Linked DNA regions of Homo sapiens: region 2 is linked to region 1. The links are contacts of gene promoters, found by promoter capture Hi-C in human tissues and cell types (Jung and others, 2019). All regions are on one chromosome and are shown on one strand. Each heading gives the region's core, a stretch centred on a gene start or on the middle of the fragment in contact. The rest is flanking DNA. Distances are from core to core; before and after follow the strand shown. Region 1 holds the start of RPS6KA4 (ribosomal protein S6 kinase A4). Region 2 holds the start of TRMT112 (tRNA methyltransferase activator subunit 11-2).

Region 1 (2,754 bases), core at 191-2,690:
TTCACCCACCTTGTGCAGGTGTTCCAGGGCCAGCACGATCTCACCCCCATACACGCGCACCTCAGCCTCCTTGAAGTACTGGCGCTGGTAGAGGTGGGTGAACATCTCCCCGCCGCTCACATAGTCTGGGAGGTGCAGTGGAAGTCAGGAAGCAGCCCCGTCAGGTGGCCTCGCCTGCCCCCAGCCACCCCAACCCCGTTGGGATGTGGTGTGCGCTCACCCAGGATGAGGTGCAGCTTGGCATCCGTCTGGAAAGCGTAGTGCAGCGTGACCAGGAAGGGCGCCTGGCGCACCAGCTCCAGCACCGAGCGCTCGGTGCGCGTGTGCTCTTGCGTCTTGGCGCGCTGCACCAGCGCCGCCTTGCGCAGCACCTTCATGGCGTACAGCTTCCCCGCGTCGTGCCCGCCCGCCTTCCGCACCAGGAACACCTTGCCGTAGGCTGTGGGAGCAGCGAGTGGGTGGAGGGTGGGCTGTGAGCGGGAGATTGGTGCAGGCTTGGGGGGTGGGGGCGATGCCAACCCAGGAGGGTGTGCAAATGAGGCGAAGGAGCTGGGGCAACAGGCAGGTGTGCAAAAAGCTGGCAGAGCCTTCTAAGGAAAGGGTGTGCACACCCCGGGAGGGTGCCCAGCAAAACCAGGGAAAGGATGTGCAAACCAGGCTGGGGAGCATGCATCTCCAGGGGGCCTGCTGCGAGGCATGGGGGCGGGGCATATGCAAACCTGCGAGAGATCAGATGGATGTGAAAAGATGCCAGTGCAAGGAAGGGAGGCAGAGGTGTGCACCTGGCTGGGGAAGGGATGCGCAAACCAGCGCTGGGGCATTTGCAAAATGTGGGAGGGGGATCCCATATTGGAAGAAAGGGAGGAGCTATGCAAATCACTTGAGAGGGGCGCCAGTCCCCCTCCCCAGGGTGTTGGCAAATCCAGGGGGGTATGCACGCACAGGACCGTGGAGGGAGGAGTGATGTCAATGTGGAGTGCCCTGGAAGTGGGCATGCAAACTCTGGCGAGGCAGGGCGGGGCAGGCAAGGCAGGCTGTGCCGGGAAAGGGTGGGGGGCCTGCTCAGTGGCCTGGCCCAGGCCCAAGAGTGAGCAGGCAGGAGGTCAGGGGCACCGCGCCTGGGACGCCTGCCCGGTGGATGGGGGTCCTCACCTCCCGTGCCCAGCACCTTGAGCAGCTCGAAGTTCTCCACGCTCACCTTCTCCTCGTGCCCGGTCAGGTTGGCTGTGGGCACAGGGGGCGAATGAGCCCAGCCGGTCCATGACCCGTCCCGGCCTGCCCCGGGCAGCCGCAGTCAGGCCCCACACCCACCTTCTGTGATCCGCAGCTCCACGGCGCAGCTCTCATCGTCGTCCTCGTCCCCCATGGCGGGCGGGTCGCTGGGGCCCGCGCGGCTCGGGCTCCGGGCGGCGCCGGTTACATGGCGGCTCCGGCCGGGGCGGGCGCTTCCTGGTGCCGCCTCCGGGGCCGAGGCGGGCGCCGGCACCGCCTCCCGGCTCCCCGCCCTGCGCGGCCTGAGTCAGGCGGCTGGAACGTGACAGCGCCGGGCTGCCGGTGGGCGGCCGGCTGGGGCCGCCCTGTCTCCCGAGCCCCCAGGCCAGGCCTCAGGGCCGTGCGCTCCGGGACCTTACTCGACTCTCCCGGGAACTGGAAACACCCCGTGGGAGCCATCCCTGAGCCCGTGGGTAACCTGGAGCCTCTGGGGCATTAGTCCCCAAGCCAGGAATCTGCCCGGGAATGCCGGCTGCAGCCAGTGGCTGGAGGACATTAGGAGTCTGTGCCCCAAGGTGGGGGACGAGGTGCCTGGTGCTGGGCAGGCTGAGAGGGGGTCTGGATCCTGGAAGTCACCCAACTCTCAGGCAGTGGAGCCCACCCCACTCCATCGTCCTGGGGGTGGCCAGCAGGGCCCCTCTCCCCAGAGGACTGGCCTTTGCAAGGAGGAGCCTCATCACCAAGAGGGGGCTGGAGCCCGGCCTGGGACCCCATGGCAAGGAGAGGAGTGGCCAGTTTTCTGACCAGCTTTCTGTCGGGGGTGCCTGCAGAAGCACTTCAGCCCCCAGTCACCGTGCAGAGCCCACCAGGTGCCATGCGCACCTCACGTGTTCTGCTCCTGTTGTCTCCTAGCCTGGTGCAGTACCCAGCTTAGAGCCCTGAGCAGGCCTCAAGAAGAGATGTCAGTGCCACACGGGGCTGCCCCCTCTCCCCATGAGGCCCAGGGCCCCTGCTGACTGGTCCTCCTGAGCCCCTGCTCCGTCTTCTTCCTGCCTTTCCCTTCCTGACCACCAATGGGGCCACCTAGCAGAGTGGGACAGCCATGAGGCCCCACACCCTGAGGCCGGTGGGAGGGGCTCTCAGCTCCTCTGCCAGCTGGAGAGGCCAGGGTGTCCACCCCACGCCCCTGTCCTGTGAAGCCCTGGCTGAGAGGAGGAGGAACTCAAGCTGCTGCAGGTCACACCTGGGAGGCCGGACGGACCGTCCCTCCCAGCTCTGCACCCCCCAAGTTCAGGCTGCCTTATCTCAGCCCTGGGCAGCTCCACCCTCCCCTGGGTGGCCCCAGGTACCCTGACTCACATCCTGCACCCCAGCCGAATTGCCCCGCCTCTCAGGCATCAGGCTAGAGGCCCTGGTCAGAGAGCCAGCGTCCCTCCCACCTCTCCTGGCAACCCCTGGCATTAAGTGATGCCCCGCCAGGCTGAGAACTCCCTGGGGAGGGGGCTCAACCTCAAGGAGGGAGGGGAGATGAGTAGGAGGAGG
Region 2 (2,754 bases), core at 141-2,640, 42 kb after region 1:
GGCGCTAAGGGACAGCTGTTTCAGAAGATAGGGGAAATCAGGCCGGGAGTGGTGTCTCACACCTGTAATCCTAGCACTTCGGGAAGCCGAGGCGGGGGGGGGCGGGGGGGGTTCACCTGAGGTCAGGAGTTCGAGACCAATCTGAACAACGGGGTGAAATCCCGTCTCTACTAAAAATACAATAGCTGGGCGTGGTGGCTCGCATCTGTAGTCCCAGCTACTCAGGAGGCTGAGGCAGTAGAATCGCTTGAACCCGGGAGGCGGAGGCTGCAGTGAGCAGAGATTGCGTCACTGCACTCCAGCCTGGGCGACACAGAAAGACTCCGTCTCAAAAAAAAACAAAAAACAAAAAACACAATGCCTCGGGACTGTCCCGGGAGGTGAGGCCCCCACGATTGGCGAGAAAGGTGGGCAGCCACGAGGGCCTTCTGAAGGGATGAGCCGGGCGGGCGGAGGGGAGGGGTCTGGCAGGCAGGAAATAAAGCGATACTCTCAGACTAGCGGGACGGGGATTGCCATGGGGGTAGTGGGGGATGTCAGGCCCGGCCGGGCCAGCGGTCACCTTGATTGGGGCCATGGCTGCAGCGGCTCTGCTGAAACTGCGGACCCCGCCAGACGCCCACTCTCCTTCACTGTACCGTCTTGCTGCCGCTGCCGCAGACTGACCGCCGGCCCCACCGACGAGTATATAGCCCGCTGAGCGTCTCAGGGCGCACACGCCAGCTAGTCCCATACCCGCCCCACGGCCACTTCCACTCCGCCTCCTGGCTGGTGCCACCGCAGCAGGCGGGGCACCGCTAGCGGCACAGCGGCGACACCCTGCGGAAGGCGGGCCTGGGCCGCCTCCACTGCGCAGGCGCGAGCGGCCACCCGCAGAACAGAGCTTCCGGGACCCACGCCTCGTTTGCACTGGGTGCTGGACAGCCGACGCAACTACAAATGGGGCGGAGCTTTCGGCACTGGAGCAGCTAATTTGCATATAGGAATGAGGTGCGGCTCGGCTTCCATGGGCCTAATTTACAGATAGGGCGGTATTTCTGCCCCTTAACCGAAAGTGGGATACAGAGGACGACGGTGTTAGGCGCCTGTGTAGGAGTAAAATGTGTTTATTTTGCATTCAACGAGAGCTCCTGCATTGCAGCTATTTTGCATATGATTTGCATCTTACGAAGAATTTGTGGCAAAAAAAAGCTGGGCGTGCGCCGTAGGAACCTCCTGCTGAGACGCTTCCGGTAGCGGCGCGTGACCCGACAGGTCTTTCACCTACCTACCTCAGCTCCCACAAACACGAGAAGTTCCAGCAAGTTCGCCACTTCCGGTTCTCCTGGCTATCCAATAGCATCGAGAGGAGCATCCCCGGAAGTGAGGCAGCGGAGGACGACCTTTTTCCGGTTCCGGCCTGGCGAGAGTTTGTGCGGCGACATGAAACTGCTTACCCACAATCTGCTGAGCTCGCATGTGCGGGGGGTGGGGTCCCGTGGCTTCCCCCTGCGCCTCCAGGTACCCGCCGGCGGCAGTCTTCCCTTTTCGGGCGGGATGGTGGGCCGGGGTCCAGTGCTTGCCTAAACTCCTCCGCCCTGCAGGCCACCGAGGTCCGTATCTGCCCTGTGGAATTCAACCCCAACTTCGTGGCGCGTATGATACCTAAAGTGGAGTGGTCGGCGTTCCTGGAGGCGGCCGATAACGTGAGGATCCTTACCCCGCCCCAGCATATCCCGGGGAATGCGGGGCGGGCACACCTCAGCCGGGCTGAGGCGGGAGTTCGGGATGCCCGGAGATAATTTTGGCCTCTTGCCCACAGTTGCGTCTGATCCAGGTGCCGAAAGGGCCGGTTGAGGGATATGAGGAGAATGAGGAGTTTCTGAGGACCATGCACCACCTGCTGCTGGAGGTGAGAAGCGGCCCATCACTTGCTTCCCGGGCCACCTGCCTCCCGCACTGAGGCTGCCAGTGCTCAGCTCTGTCCCTCCCTGCCCGCAGGTGGAAGTGATAGAGGGCACCCTGCAGTGCCCGGAATCTGGACGTATGTTCCCCATCAGCCGCGGGATCCCCAACATGCTGCTGAGTGAAGAGGAAACTGAGAGTTGATTGTGCCAGGCGCCAGTTTTTCTTGTTATGACTGTGTATTTTTGTTGATCTATACCCTGTTTCCGAATTCTGCCGTGTGTATCCCCAACCCTTGACCCAATGACACCAAACACAGTGTTTTTGAGCTCGGTATTATATATTTTTTTCTCATTAAAGGTTTAAAACCAAAAGCGGTTTCTCTTTGCAGCAAATATACATTAAAATAGAGTCTCTGTACAGCCAAGGGCTCTGGGCCCTGGCTTGCCCCATGTCCCTGCGCCTCCCTGGCCAAACCCAAAAATAAATATAGTGTTATTGCTCTGCAGGGCATAGAGGCAGTGCTCTCCTACCCCCTGAGGAGGCTCGTTGGGAGCTGATGGGGAAGCCCTGGCCACCCCAGGGGTCCAGGGGCTGGAGTCTGCTTGGAGTTATTGCTTCAAGGGGGGACACTAATGCCCAATGCAAATGATGAGAGGAGGAGCGAAGGGGGCATGGGCCTTTGCTCTCCAAGTCCCACTCTGCTTTGAAGAGGGGGTAGGATTAAGCAGCAGCAAAAGCATCACCCACTGGGAGACTCTGGCCTCCATCCCCTTCCCTCCCTGAGATAGGTTTCTGCCTCCCACGCATCCCGTGCAGCCCCCTATGGCTTCCGCAAGGCCCCCTACACTCTGGGGGCACGTTATGGCT

What was found. The method cuts DNA at HindIII sites, captures the fragments that hold promoters and counts their contacts. A contact is called where the count stands out against the background at its distance.
Region 2: the fragment with the promoter of TRMT112 here is called in contact with the fragment with the promoter of RPS6KA4 in region 1 in 5 of the 25 tissues and cell types used here (bladder, dorsolateral prefrontal cortex, pancreas and 2 more).

What each region holds. Positions count from the first base shown.
Region 1 is chr11:64,357,848-64,360,601 of GRCh38, reverse strand. It overlaps RPS6KA4 (ribosomal protein S6 kinase A4), which reads right to left and starts at 1,440. Exons shown (of 17, transcript NM_003942.3): 1 at 1,312-1,440; 2 at 1,153-1,224; 3 at 221-439; 4 at 10-125. The coding sequence starts at 1,366. RefSeq lists enhancers at 45-154, 888-1,415 and a silencer at 1,165-1,654. The HindIII fragment of the contact is 21,233 bases long and covers 1-2,754 here.
Region 2 is chr11:64,316,195-64,318,948 of GRCh38, reverse strand. It overlaps TRMT112 (tRNA methyltransferase activator subunit 11-2), which reads left to right and starts at 1,390. Exons shown (of 4, transcript NM_016404.3): 1 at 1,390-1,500; 2 at 1,584-1,685; 3 at 1,802-1,891; 4 at 1,981-2,489. The coding sequence starts at 1,423. The coding sequence ends at 2,088. It overlaps ESRRA (estrogen related receptor alpha), which reads right to left. Exons shown (of 7, transcript NM_004451.5): 7 at 2,206-2,754. PRDX5 (peroxiredoxin 5) reads right to left here and starts at 828. Exons shown (of 6, transcript NM_012094.5): 1 at 563-828. The coding sequence starts at 733. RefSeq lists a silencer at 764-923 and enhancers at 1,014-1,213, 2,371-2,754. The HindIII fragment of the contact is 15,117 bases long and covers 1-2,754 here.